Regions from separate parts of the Homo sapiens genome. Here region 1 is linked to region 2. Evidence: promoter capture Hi-C in human tissues and cell types (Jung and others, 2019). All regions are on one chromosome and are shown on one strand. The core of a region is centred on a gene start or on the middle of the fragment in contact, and the rest is flanking DNA. Distances in the headings are between cores, read along the strand shown.

Region 1 (6,686 bases), core at 292-2,791, 37 kb before region 2:
GATAATAATAATCTCTGCCTTACAGTGTTTTCAAGGGTGAGTCCACACCCATCCTTGAGTGAATCATCACCTTGGTGGGCTCCATGGCACCCTCCTCCCCCACCCCACCCCCGGCCGGCCCTCCTTTCTGAAGCAGCCTCTCCCACCCTGAGGTGCCCCACCCTCCAAGTTTCCTGCTGCTCTGGGCACTCCTACATCTCTGCACCATGGCCCACACACACCGGAGTCCTGGCATCTCAGTCCTAGTCTTCATTCTTATTTAGTAGCCTCTCTTTAAGATGGTTCATCCACACTGGCAGCTTCCATTTTCAGATGCCTCCAATCTTTCATTTGAATATCAGACCTTTATAGGCAACTATTCACACCATACCTTCTTTTGGGGGGTATCTCCCACTCAACAGGTCTAAATGAAGTTTGAGTCCTCTCCTAAATCTAGCGGGCTTCCCATGTTCTTATTCTCAGCTAGTGGCACTGCCACTCATCCAGCTGTGCGAGCCAGACACCCAAAGAGTCATCCCAGACCCCTCACCTGCTCCCCAACCCCAGCCATCACAAGCCCTGTCCATTCTCCCTCCTAAAGAGCTCAGAAATATGCCTTCAGAACTACGTCTTCATTGGACCACCCCGGTCTGAGGTACAACCCACCTATTTCCTAAACCATCCCATCGTACTCACTGCCGTGCCCCAGCAGAGCGCCCTTCTCAATGCACAGATGTTGTGGTGTCATTTCCCTACTTCTGTCCTCTCACAGCTCTGCATTGCTCTTTGGGTCAAAAATAAAATCTTTTTTTTAAATTTATATAAATATATGGGGTTCAAGAACAATTTCGTTACATGCATAGATTGCATAATGGTTAAGTCGGGGTTTTTACATATTCATTATCCAAATAATGTATATTGCACCCATTAAGTAGTTTCTCATCCTCCACCCCCTCCCGCTCCCTCATCCTTCCAAATCTCCATTGTCTATTATTCCAATCTCTATGGCCATTTGTACACATTTTTTCACTTCCACTTACAAGTGGGAAATATGCAATATTTGTCTTTCTGTATCTGGGTTGATTTGCTCAAGGTAATGGCCTTCAGTTCCATCCATGTTGCTGCAAAAGACATGATTTCATTCCTTTTTATGGCTAAATAGTATTTCATTGTGTTTATATGCCACATTTTCTTCATTCAATTTAGGATATTTAGGTTGATTCCATATCTTTGCTATTGTGAATGGTGCTGCAATAAACATAAAAGTACAGGTATCTTTTTGATATATTGATTTCTTTTCCTATGGGTAGATGCCCAGTAGTGGAGTGGCTGAATCAAATGGTATATCTATTTTTGGCTCTTTGAGAAATCTCCATACTGTTTTGCACAGAGGTTGTACTAATTTACATGCCCACCAGCACTGTTTAAGAGTTCACTTTCTCCATATCCTCACCAACATCTGTTAGTTTTTGTCTTTTTAATAATAGCCATTCTAACATTTGTTTTCTTAGTATTGAGTTGTTTCATTTCCCTATATATTTTTGGATATTATCCCCTTATCATATGCATGGTTTGCAAATATTTTCTCCCATTTTGCAGGTTGTCTCTTCACTCTGTTGATTATTTCTTTTGCTGTGTAGAAGCTTTTTAGTTTAAGTCCCATGCATCTGTTTTTGTTTTTGTTTTTGTTTTTCGATTGGGGGGATGGAGTTTCGCTCTTGTTGCCAGGCTAGAGTGCAATGGCACGATCTTGGCTCACTTCAACCTCTGCCTCCTGGGTTCAAGAGAGTCTCCTGCCTCAGCCTCCTGGGTAGCTGGGATTACAGGCGCGCATCCCCACGTCCAGCTAATTTCTTTGTATTTTTAGTAAAGACGAGGTTTCACCATGTTGGCCAGGCTGGTCTTGAACTCCTGACCTCAGGTGATCCACCTGCCTCGGTCTCCCACAGTGCTGAGATTATAGGCGTGAGCCTGTTTTTGTTTTAAAATCCTTAAGGAGATGTACACGACCCCACAGGACCTGACCCTGGCTCCCGGCCAGCCTCACCTCCCATGGCTTTCCTGCCCCTGTATTACCTCACTTCCTTCCCCTTTAGCCATCCTTCGGGCCTCAGTTCAAGTTCACATCTTCAGGATGGTAGTCTACGACCCCTTATACCAGTTGAGACCATCTTTTAGGCATTCCTACCTCACCACTTGATTTTCTTTCAGGGTATTTAGTACATTTGCTGTTGTAAGATAACGTGGGCCTTTTCATCAATGGCAGTCTCCCGTGCTAGAATACATAATCCAGTACTGCAGGACATAGCTATATATTGCTTATCCATGAATTCCCAGTGGCAAAGCCCCAGTAGAATTTCAATACATATATATTTATTAAAAAGTGATTTATTAATTACTTTTTAAATTAATTAATATTGAGGTGCACCAGCAACATAGTTAAAACTCCTCATTCCCCAAACTACTCAGATCCATTTCTGGCTCTGCCACATACTGGTTTTGTGACTTTGGGGAAGTTATCTTATCGTTATCCCTGACACTTCCTCTCCAAAATTGAGTAGCTTGCATAGGAAAGTCAAGAAGACAAAAGTTAGCCTCCCAGCAACTAGCTAAACAAAACCCACTTTTCAGTCAAAACCAAGAATACCTATTTAATGATAATAATAAAAAAGAAGAAACCATGCTCCTAGTACACATTAATTCATCAAAGGATAATAAAGAAGAAAAAGAGGAGTCACAGCCACTTGTGCTCTGCTAATAAGTAACAGTCTTGCCAAGACCTTAGGAGGACAACATCAGCCAGCACCCATTTTCAATACAGGTGACTCGGTGGACCTTTGTTTCCCATCAAGTCCCTTTCCTCTAGCACCCAAGCACCCCTGCAGCCCACCCCTGACACAGCCTGGTAGCAGGTGCTTCTCCTGCAAGGGAAACAGCCAGGCCCTGTGCCCCATATGCAATGAACAAGGCAGGGCTCTGCCCCTCTCCTGCAAGCAATCAACACAGGCCCTGAAGCATGAGATTTAATTGCTTGTTCATTATTTTAGCTTGCAGGGGCTACAAGGAAGTATGGCATTTCTGAGCACACCATCCGAGGGAACCCTGGGAGCTGTCAGATTAAAAAATAACAACAGAAACGAGAAAGGAGCCTCTCTTTAGCCAAATGGCTTCAGGTGCCCGTGACTCAATGCAAGGGCCCCCATCAAAACCCATGGCAGCCCCTCTCTGTTTGTCCTGCCCTTTTCAATTCTGTCTGAGTGGGGAGGAGAATGCCACAAAGAGACGAGAATTTGAACTCGCAGCCCCTGAGTGCACCAATGCCCTTTTTCTGCCTGATTGTATACTTGAAGTGCCTGTAAAGTCAATAACTTCCCATGGTTTCACAGCAAAGTCAAAAGGTTAAAAAAGAGACATTGTCCTTTTGAAGATGTGGAAAGTAATGAGTGAGCAGGCTGAATCCTCTGTGGGTTTAAAAGCCTGTGCCATTCTGCTTTAAGGTGTCAAAATTGCCTTAAATTTTTAGCTTTGTTATACCCTGCTGCTACACAGATATCATAGAACCAGGCTGAGTCTCTCAATTTGGAGATCATTTTTTCTCTCTAAAAACTTGTTGAAATATATATGTTAGCACAGACATTTTCTTAACATTTTCTGTTCAAAATATAGTATTTTTTCAGATGCATCTTAAGAGATCAGAATAGTCAAACAGTAGATCTCTTTTTGAAAAAAAAAATTGTATACCATCTTCAAGTTTTAAGCACAAAGGTTACAGCTAGTCCTCCTCCCCTATTTTATTTCCACTGTTGGAGCAGATTTGACCTCGTCTCTCTAAAGGCAGAAAACTTCAACAAAGGTGAGAGGACTATTTAAAGCGATGAAAAAGATTCTGAATGAAGGATTTTGCCCTGGATGAAGCCTGAAAGAAATGCAGTGCTTAGGAAGTGGATAAAAGTCAATAGCAACAATTCTTGGCTTTGGATGAAAACTTGAAGGTGCACTTTTCCCCAGTGATATGAAAAACAAGAAAATAAAAACAACCAACCAGAGACCCGTAACTCTTCTGGTTCTGTGGCGTCTGTACATTCATGTGATAGAAACTTACTAAATCCCAAAGGGTCCCTGGCAAAGCCCAGGCTCCGTGATGGGCTGAGAGCCCTGCCACTGCACCAGGAGAAAAGGAGTCACTAGGCTTCGGATGGGGAAGAGAAAAGCCTCTTTCCTCCCTCCCATTCCAAAAGAGAAGAAAAAACCTGGACAGCCAGATACAAGCAGCCTTGAAAAATCACTCTAGAGGAGAAAAGACAGGAAGAATGTCATCGAGAAAGAAGGCCAGGAGAGGATGCCACAAAGGTGCTTTTTCTCCCTCCTCTCTTTCCACCTTTCCCATAGTCTCCTCTCCACCTAAACGACCCCCAATCAACTCTCTCCAGATTCTACTCTCCCACCGGAGCCTGACTGACACATTTTCCAAAAGCAGGTTAAAAAAAGCAAGGGTCTCAGGCTCCGTCACATCCAACTCATTCTTATGTGCCAGGGAGATACAGAGCCACATTCTGTGTATCTGTTGGATTGTGAATTACCACTTGGGCATAGAGACTGGTCTCAACAGTGAGATTCCCCTCGTGTAGGAACCCTCATGCTTCAGCTAGGTGCTTACAGGTGAAGAGTTACTCAAAAATCATCATGTAGCAAATTTGGTTTCCACACCTTAAATTAGAGAGACTCAGGCGTGCACCAAGGAAACGTCTAGCTATGCTCTTCTCCAGCCTCTCACCGGGCTGCAGGTCTTAGCTTTTAGTATCACTGGGGTGTCCCGGGCTTTTGTTTGAATGGCTCAACCTGGCTGCAATCATTGCAGCCGATCGCTCTGCCAGCATCTGCATTGTCTGCTTCAAAAGTCAGGCTCACCAGAGAGAGCAATTTCTTTTTTCTTTTTCTTTTTTTTGAGACGGAGTCTCGCTCTGTCGCCCAGGCTGGAGTGCAGTGGCGTAATCTCGGCTCACTGCAATCTCCGCCTCCTGGGTTCAAGCAGTTCTCCTGCCTCAGCCTCCTGAGTAGCTGGGATTACAGGCGCCCGCCACCACATCCAGCTAATTTTGTATTTTTAGTAGAGACTGGGTTTCACCATGTTGGTCAGGCTGGTCTCGAACTCCTGACCTTGTGATCCGCCTGCTTCGGCCTCCCAAAGTGCTGGGATTACAGGTGTGAGCCACCGTGCCTGGCCAGAGGAAACAATTTCTTAATGGAAAGAATTTGTTATTAGTTTAGGCCACAAGCCTGAATCTTTGAAACAGCATGACTCAGATAGTTCATCACTCAGAGAATTAAGGTTTTGCATCCCTCGGTTCTGAGTGAGGTTTTCTTCCTCTTTTGAGAAGAGCAGCATTAAATTACCAGAGCCATCTCATCGGTCATTCATTTAGTATTTACCACACCTACTATGTGCAAAAGGCAGTGGGAAGTAGAAAGATTAGAAAGAAAAACTCCTGCCATCCAAGGGGTTAACAGCTTACAGATCTTAGAACCACACAACTTAGAAAAAAAAGTTTAAGATTATATAGAGAATCCAAGTGCTTTATTTCACAGATGAAGACATAAGACCCTGAACTATTCTATAACTCCTGTGGTAAACTACAGAGGCAATTCCCAAACCCAGGTCTGCTGACTCAAAGAAGGACTGTGCCTTTCCATTCTGTTCCTAACAGCTAAGAAACTCCTGCATCCCCAGATCCCAGAGGCTTATATGGTCTGGAAAGCTGGTGTCGTGGTCATCAGTCAAAAGCACTCACTGCATACGTACACCATGGCCAGCACACACCTGGAGGTTTGGACACACACATTCACACACTTACATAATCCTCACAATAAGTGTTTGAGGCAAGAATTGGTATTCAGGATGTAAGCTTGAGAAGCTGGGGGGAGTGTTAAATAACCCATTCAAGGTTAAAGGGTCCCCGTGGTGAATTGAGGACTCAAAACTCAGTCTGTTCTCTGCCCCTACACACCAGTAGCCTCGATTTCCAACTCGTTTGGTTATTCCTTGTTATAGACTGAATGCTGTGTCTCTCTCCCAAAATTCACATGTTAAAACCCTACTCCCCGATGTGAGAATATCAGGAGGTGAGGCCTTTGGGGGTGATTAGGGTGAAGCCCTCATGGTGGGATTAGAGTCTTTGTTAGAAGAGACACAACAGAGATGATTGTTTCTCTTCAGCCATGTGAGGACAGGACAAGACGTCCATCTACGAACCAGAAAGAGGGATCTCACCAGACACCAAATCTGCTGCTGCCTTGATCTTGGACTTCCTAGCCTCCAGAACTATAAGAAATAAATGTTTGTGGCTGGGTGAGGTGGCTCACACCTGTAATACCAGCACTTTGAGAGGCTGAGGCGGGTGGATTACTTGAGGTCAGGAGTTCGAGACCAGCCTGGCCAACACAGTGAAACCCCATCTCTAATAAAAATACAAAAATTAGCCAGGCATAGTGGCACATGCCTGTAACTCCAGCTACTCGGGAGGCTGAGGCAGGAGAATCACTTGAATCCAGGAGGCCGGGGTTGCACTGAGCAGAGATCTCGCTACTCCACTCCAGCCTGGGCGACAGAGTGAGACTCCGTCTCAAAAAAAAAAAGAAAAGAAAAAAAGAAAAAAAAAAGAAATGTTTGTTGTTTGAGCCAGTCCATGATATTCTGCCATAGCAGGCCA
Region 2 (6,130 bases), core at 2,146-4,645:
GCCCACATCTTTATGGGGACGCTATTTTTACATAACGCAAACGGTACAAAAACATAAATGCGCTTTTGGTACCAGAGTGTGCGATTCTTGCCCCGCGTGTGGGGACGCTGCAGATTTCTTCCTGGCTTTCCACCGCTGCAGCTGCAGAGCTCTCAGCTTTTCTCGGAGCTCCATGTTCTGCTCCCTCAAAGCATCTATATGACTCCGGAGTTTTCCATGAACATCAGCCCACAGAGACTTCTGTCTCCCAAGCTCTTGGTGGAGTCTGATGATCTGCTGCTGTAATGGCTGTTATTGGGAAGAGAACACCAGAAAAACCTCTCAGATGTCACAATGGGCACATTTATCTGCAAAATACTCAAGCCCTCTCTGATGTAAGACCAACACTATTTCTGGAATAAAAGACACCCGATGAGATAAACAGGACTACCACAGCCTTTTTCTTTCTTCTTTCTTTCCTTTCTTTCTTTCTTTTCTTTTCTTTTTTCAGGGTCTCACTCAGTCACTCAGGCTGGAGTGCAGTGGCATGATCTCAGCTCACTGAAGCTTCAACTTGATGAGCTCAAGCGATCCTCCTGTCTCGACCTCCCAAATAGCTGGGACTACAGGCATGTGCCACCATACTTCGCTAATTTTTGTATTTTTACTCGGGATGGGGGTTCACCATGTTGCCCAGACTGGTCTCAAACTCCTGGGCTCAAGCAATCCACCTGCCTCGGCCTCCCAAAGTGCTGGGATTACAGGAATAAGCTACCATGCCTGGCCATAGCTTTATTCTTATTAAGTAGTGTTTATTATGAGTTAGTCCACATAATATAACCAGATAAAGATGGTTAGTGAATTATGATTTTTTTGTTAAAACACTACTACAGCAAAAAGAGGCTGGCATTCTTTTCCTTTTTTTTTTTTTTTTTTTTTTTTTTTTGAGACAGTGTCTTTCTCTGTCACCCAGGCTGGAGTGCAGTGGCGCAGTCTCAGCTCACTGCAACCTCCACTTCCCAGATTCAAGCAACTCTGGTGCCTCAGCATCCAGAGTAGTTGGGATTACAGGCACATGCCACCACACCTGGCTAATTTTTCTATTGTTAGTAGAGACAGGGTTTTACCATGTTGGCCAGACTGGTCTCAAAGGCTGTACTGGCATGGATATATGGTCAATAGTTTAAAAATTATGGAAGCCGGCCGGGCGCGGTGGCTCACGCCTGTAATCCCAGCACTTTGGGAGGCCGAGGCGGGCGGATCACGAGGTCAGGAGATCGAGACCATCCCGGCTAACACGGTGAAACCCCGTCTCTACTAAAAATACAAAAAATTAGCCGGGCGTAGTGGCGGGCGCCTGTAGTCCCAGCTACGTGGGAGGCTGAGGCAGGAGAATGGCGTGAACCCGGGAGGCGGAGCTTGCAGTGAGCCGAGATCCCGCCACTGCACTCCAGCCTGGGCGACAGAGCGAGACTCCGTCTCAAAAAAAAAAAAAAAAAAAAAAAAAAATTATGGAAGCCACTGCATTTTCAACCTAACATGTTAGCCTTCCCCTGGGATCCTTCACTGGATCGTAGAGCCTCCAGCCTTGCTCTGAGAATAAGTGGGATCGTGATAAAGGTACAGTCCTGCACTGGGTGGCCCTGGCCACAGGGACCCGTGGGACTTTAATGACAGCAAGCACTGTCCAACAGGGTCCAATGAGGAAGATGGTAAAAATCAGGAAACTTGCTGGGATGATGTGAGGCATGTCAACTTTCTGATTTTCTTTAATGAAGTTTTTAAAGTCTGGTGCCTTCTCCTGGATTAGAGGAGAAAAGCTGGAATGTTAATATTTTCTTTAACTCCCTGCCCTGCCTCCCATCCACCAAGAGATACGGTTGCAGAGGGGGAAAGAGCCACATGCCCCTTGGAGAGGAAGTACAGAATCAGTGTCCCGGGGTGGTGCATTCCTACAGGGGTCCAGCAAGGGAAAGTCCAATGACGGGCCTCAGGGACAGGAATCAGGGTCCCGCCTGGTGGGACTAACTCTGTCCCCACAGAGCTCAACTCACTGGCATCTCCCCAGTGTTGCAGTCCTCCGTGAGAACCTCGGCTGCCACAGCTGTCTTCTCCATGACAGCCCCAGCTCCTGGGCACGGGTCCTCTGGGTGGGTGCCCTCTTTGGGGTCCCTGGCCTCGAGTTGACCTGCCAGCATCCTGGTTGGGAAGGGAAGGGCTATGGGGACACTTGAATGCAGCCCTCCTACCCCGTCAGTGTGGGCTGAAGGCCCCAGCCCCAAACTAAGGGTGAGCAGGACCCGCAGCCGCTCCTTCTCCCCCTGGGTCATGTGCACATTCCCAGGCCCGAAGCTGACCAGGTGAAAGGACACCACAGACAGAGGGACTGAGCTGTCCACACCTGGCTCTCCACCATCCTCCGTGGAAAATGCTTTAGATCCTAGAAGATCAGCCTGACACCTAACACACTCCAGTCATCCAAAGAGGGGTGTGAGTGGGGTGTGAGCCGGTGTGAGTGGGATGTGAGTGGGTTGTGAGCAGGATATGAGCGGAATGTGAATGGATGTGAGCGGATGTGAGCACGATGGTCTTGGGGTATGAGCAGGTGTGAGTGGAATGGTCTCAGGGTGTGAGCAGGTGTGAGTGGAGGGTCGCATGAGACACCGAGGGAATTCTCAGCCCTTTAATCAGCACCCACCTGGAGGGGCACAGGCAGACCCTCCACCGTGTTGAGTATGTGTCTTGAACCATCAGGGTGACATTTGTGAATTCATGGTGAAGATGTGGAAAGGAAACACCTTTTTATAGGTACAGCATTTATGCCAGTTCTAGGAAGTTCACAGCAATTAGAGAACAAAAACGAAAGAGAAAAACGCAAAGCTTTCCTGCAAGCCTGCAGGGTCGTCTCTGAAAGCTGCCTCCACCCCTGCCTTGCCCTGTCCGTTTTAGGAAGCCAGTGGCCCCCAACGAAACCCCGACTGTTTAATTCATAAACTTCTAACTGTGTGAGAAGGAACAGTTTAACCACAGTGATCGGAGAAATGCTATTTAAAAGAGAGTCTCCTGATGGAAGCGAATCGAAGGTCTAGAGCAAGACCTACCAGTAACCAGATCACTGCCATTCCTTCCCCGCGGAGACTGGGAATGTTTCTGCGGAAGTGGGCTGGGGTCACGGTCCTCACAGCCCTGAGAAAGCTCCTTCTTTCCTGCTCCTCTGAGGGGACACCCCAGTGTCCTCGGCCCCAAACTCATGACCCCCTCAGTCCAGGGAAGACCCTTTCCTTCAGCCCCACCACCAGACCTCGTCACCTCACCTGGTCCCCAACAGTCACTACTGCCAGGATCAGATCATCTGGGCCATGTCCCCACAGTTGTCCCCAAGCCCTCCTGCCTCATATCCAGAGACCAGAGAGCAGCGGACAGTTCCAACGGACTTTCTGTCTTAAAGGGACATGAACGTCTCACTCAGCGTCACCACTGTACCAGCTCAGATAATAATTAAACATCCCCAAACCTGCAATTCTTAATATAGAAGCTCATCGTCAGTGGAGTCCATCCATCCACAAAGGACATTGGAGAGAGTCAAACTACTCCTCCAAATTGACAAAAACCATGTGTTTTATATCCAGTCTTCAATACGCAACGTGTAGTAAGAGCTCATTTCTCTGAGCATACATTCTTGGAGAAATACAAACTTTCTTCGGATATCAAATTATTTACTAGAAAAAACATTTTTATGAAGGGAAAATAATATATGTGAGTTTAAATAGGAGACAGGATTCAAAGTTTCATCATTTCACTAAATGCATCTCCATCTGAATTGTCCGTGTGATTTTTGTGATAGAGAAGAGAATGAGGAGCAAGCAAGAGTCGATATTCCTGTTAAACCCTGGCTGTCCTTCTCATCCATGGTGCTGCGTGTGGACAACATACACCTGGGGCTCACCTGAGCCTGCTTGGGACGTGTGTCACTTGGATAGTTCTGCAAGCGATTCGCATGCAATAGGCAGTAAATGCCGACGTCATGAATGAATGAAGAGAATACTACAAAGAGGAAACAGAAGGCACTTTTGTCCCCATGTGTCATTCTAACTGTGAGAGTGTGTGTGTGTGTCCTGAGGTGTGCGAGTGTGTGTGTGTGTGTCCTGAGGTGCGTGAGAGGTTGTATGTTTGTCCTGAAGTGTGTGAGAGTTTATATAGGTTTCTGAGGTATGTGAGGGGTTGTGTGTGTCCCTGAGGTGTATGAGGTGTGTGTGGGTCCTGAGGTGTGTGAGTGGTTGTGTGTGGGTCCCTGAGGTGTGTGAGAGGTTGTGTGTGGGTCCTAAGGTGTGTGAGTGGTTGTGTGTGGGTCCTAAGGTGTGTGAGAGGTTGTGTGTGGGTCCTAAGGTGTGTGAGTGGTTGTGTGTGGGTCCTAAGGTGTGTGAGAGGTTGTGTGAGTCCTGAGGTGTGTGAGAGGATTGTGTGTGAGTCCTGAGGTGTGTGAGGGGTTATGTATGGGCCCCTGAGGTGTGTGAGGGGTTTTATGTGTGTCCTGAGAAGTGTGATGAATTGTGTGGGTCCTGAGGTGTGTGAGGGTTTGTGTATGAGACCCTGAGGTGTGTCAACATTGTGTGTGAGACCCTGAGGTGTGTGAGGGGTTGTGTGTGGATTCCTGAGGTGTGTGAGGGCTTGTGTGTATGAGCCTGAGGTGTGTGGGTTCCTTATATGGGTTCCTGAGGTGTGTGAGGGGTTGTGTGTGTGTCCTGAGGTGTGTGAGGGGTTGTGCTTGGGTCCTGGGGTGTGTGAGTGGGTGTTTGTCCTGAGGTGTGTGAGAGGTTGTGTGTGTGTCCTGAGGTGTGTGAGAGTTTGCGTAGGTTCCTGAGGTATGTGAGGGGTTGTGTGTGTCCTGAGGTGTGTGAGAGGTTGTGTGAGTCCCTGGGGTGTGTGAGAGTTTGTGTAGGTTTCTGAGGTGTGTGAGAGTTTGTGTAGCTTCCTGAGGTGTGTGAGAGGTTGTGTGAGTCCCTGAGGTGCGTGAGGGGTTGTGTGTGTCCTGAAGTGTGTGAGAGGTTGTGTAGGTTTCAGGCTTTGCAGCTCCCCTCCTGAGCCTCAGCCGGGCGGCTCCCAGGGCAGGGTCCCCCCATCCCTGTCTCTGCTGCGGCTCTCTGTGTGTTGCTCTTCCCGGCCTGGCCAGGACATTTTCTTCATTGAGTCTTCCCCAGATTCTCACCCTGCAGCAACCACGTGCGGCAGCAGGTCAGGGCGGAGGCTCCTGGGCGTTTGGACTGTGGGGCCCTTCTCTTCTCTCTGATAAGGCCCCGGTTTTCTGTTCAGCCTCGCGGTGCCTTAGCCGCATTTCAGGCATGGTCTTCCAGGGCCCTCTGGTCTGAACATTCTGTAGAGGAAACCACGGCACACCTTTCACTCATCTTTTAAAATCAGAAGCCAGTTCCTGAGCTGGCTGCTTGGAGTAGCAGCAGATACACTTTTTAAAGTAGCTTATGTGTTTAAATTTCTGGTTCAAAGGACTACTTCTATAGTGGTACAGACCCTGACAAAAGAAATCACCTTTTCTAAATATCATCACTGCAAATGGGCAATATGACCTGGGAACTGGTGAGATGCCATTGAGATTGGAGCCCACCCCACCAGAGCTGAGTGAATTCTTGGATGACTAAATGTCGGAATAAGTTAGGGAGGGGTGCATGTCATCCAAAGAATGACATGAGCTCACTCTGTGCCTCAAGTGACACAGATCATAGTAGATTCCAGCGAAATACTTGCAGCTGTGTTGAGTTCCTCAAACTACCACAAAATTCTTATGGCAAAACTTGTGAGAGGTGAAGATAAGAGAGTGTGAGCCCTGTGATCGAATCCAAATATGAATTGTAAAATATGCCTTAATACTATTACCAGTAGCTGTAGTGTACAATGATAGAACCAAAAGATAAAGATTTTCGGCCGGGCATGGTGGCTCACGCCTGTAATCCCAGCACTTTGGGAGGCTGAGGTGGGCAGATCACAAGGTCAAGAGATCAAGACCATCCTGGCCAACATGGTGAAACCCTGTCTCTGCTAAAAATAAAAAAATAAAAAAAATTAGCTGGGTGTGGTGGCACGCGTCTGTAGTCCCAGCTACTTGGGAGGCTGAGGCAGGAGAATTGGTTGAACCTGG

Evidence for each region. The method cuts DNA at HindIII sites, captures the fragments that hold promoters and counts their contacts. A contact is called where the count stands out against the background at its distance.
Region 1: a fragment that was not itself captured here is called in contact with the fragment with the promoter of TCP10L in region 2 in 1 of the 25 tissues and cell types used here (aorta).

What each region holds. Positions count from the first base shown.
Region 1 is chr21:32,547,143-32,553,828 of GRCh38, forward strand. No RefSeq gene overlaps it. Among named protein-coding and RNA genes, the nearest start is that of TCP10L, 35 kb to the right of the region's middle. The HindIII fragment of the contact is 4,421 bases long and covers 1-3,752 here.
Region 2 is chr21:32,582,128-32,588,257 of GRCh38, forward strand. It overlaps TCP10L (t-complex 10 like), which reads right to left and starts at 3,396. Exons shown (of 5, transcript NM_144659.7): 1 at 3,294-3,396; 2 at 2,034-2,178; 3 at 73-288. The coding sequence starts at 2,177. CFAP298-TCP10L (CFAP298-TCP10L readthrough) reads right to left here. Exons shown (of 12, transcript NR_146639.2): 6 at 73-288. RefSeq lists an enhancer at 1,653-2,153 and a silencer at 3,235-3,434. The HindIII fragment of the contact is 17,408 bases long and covers 1,703-6,130 here.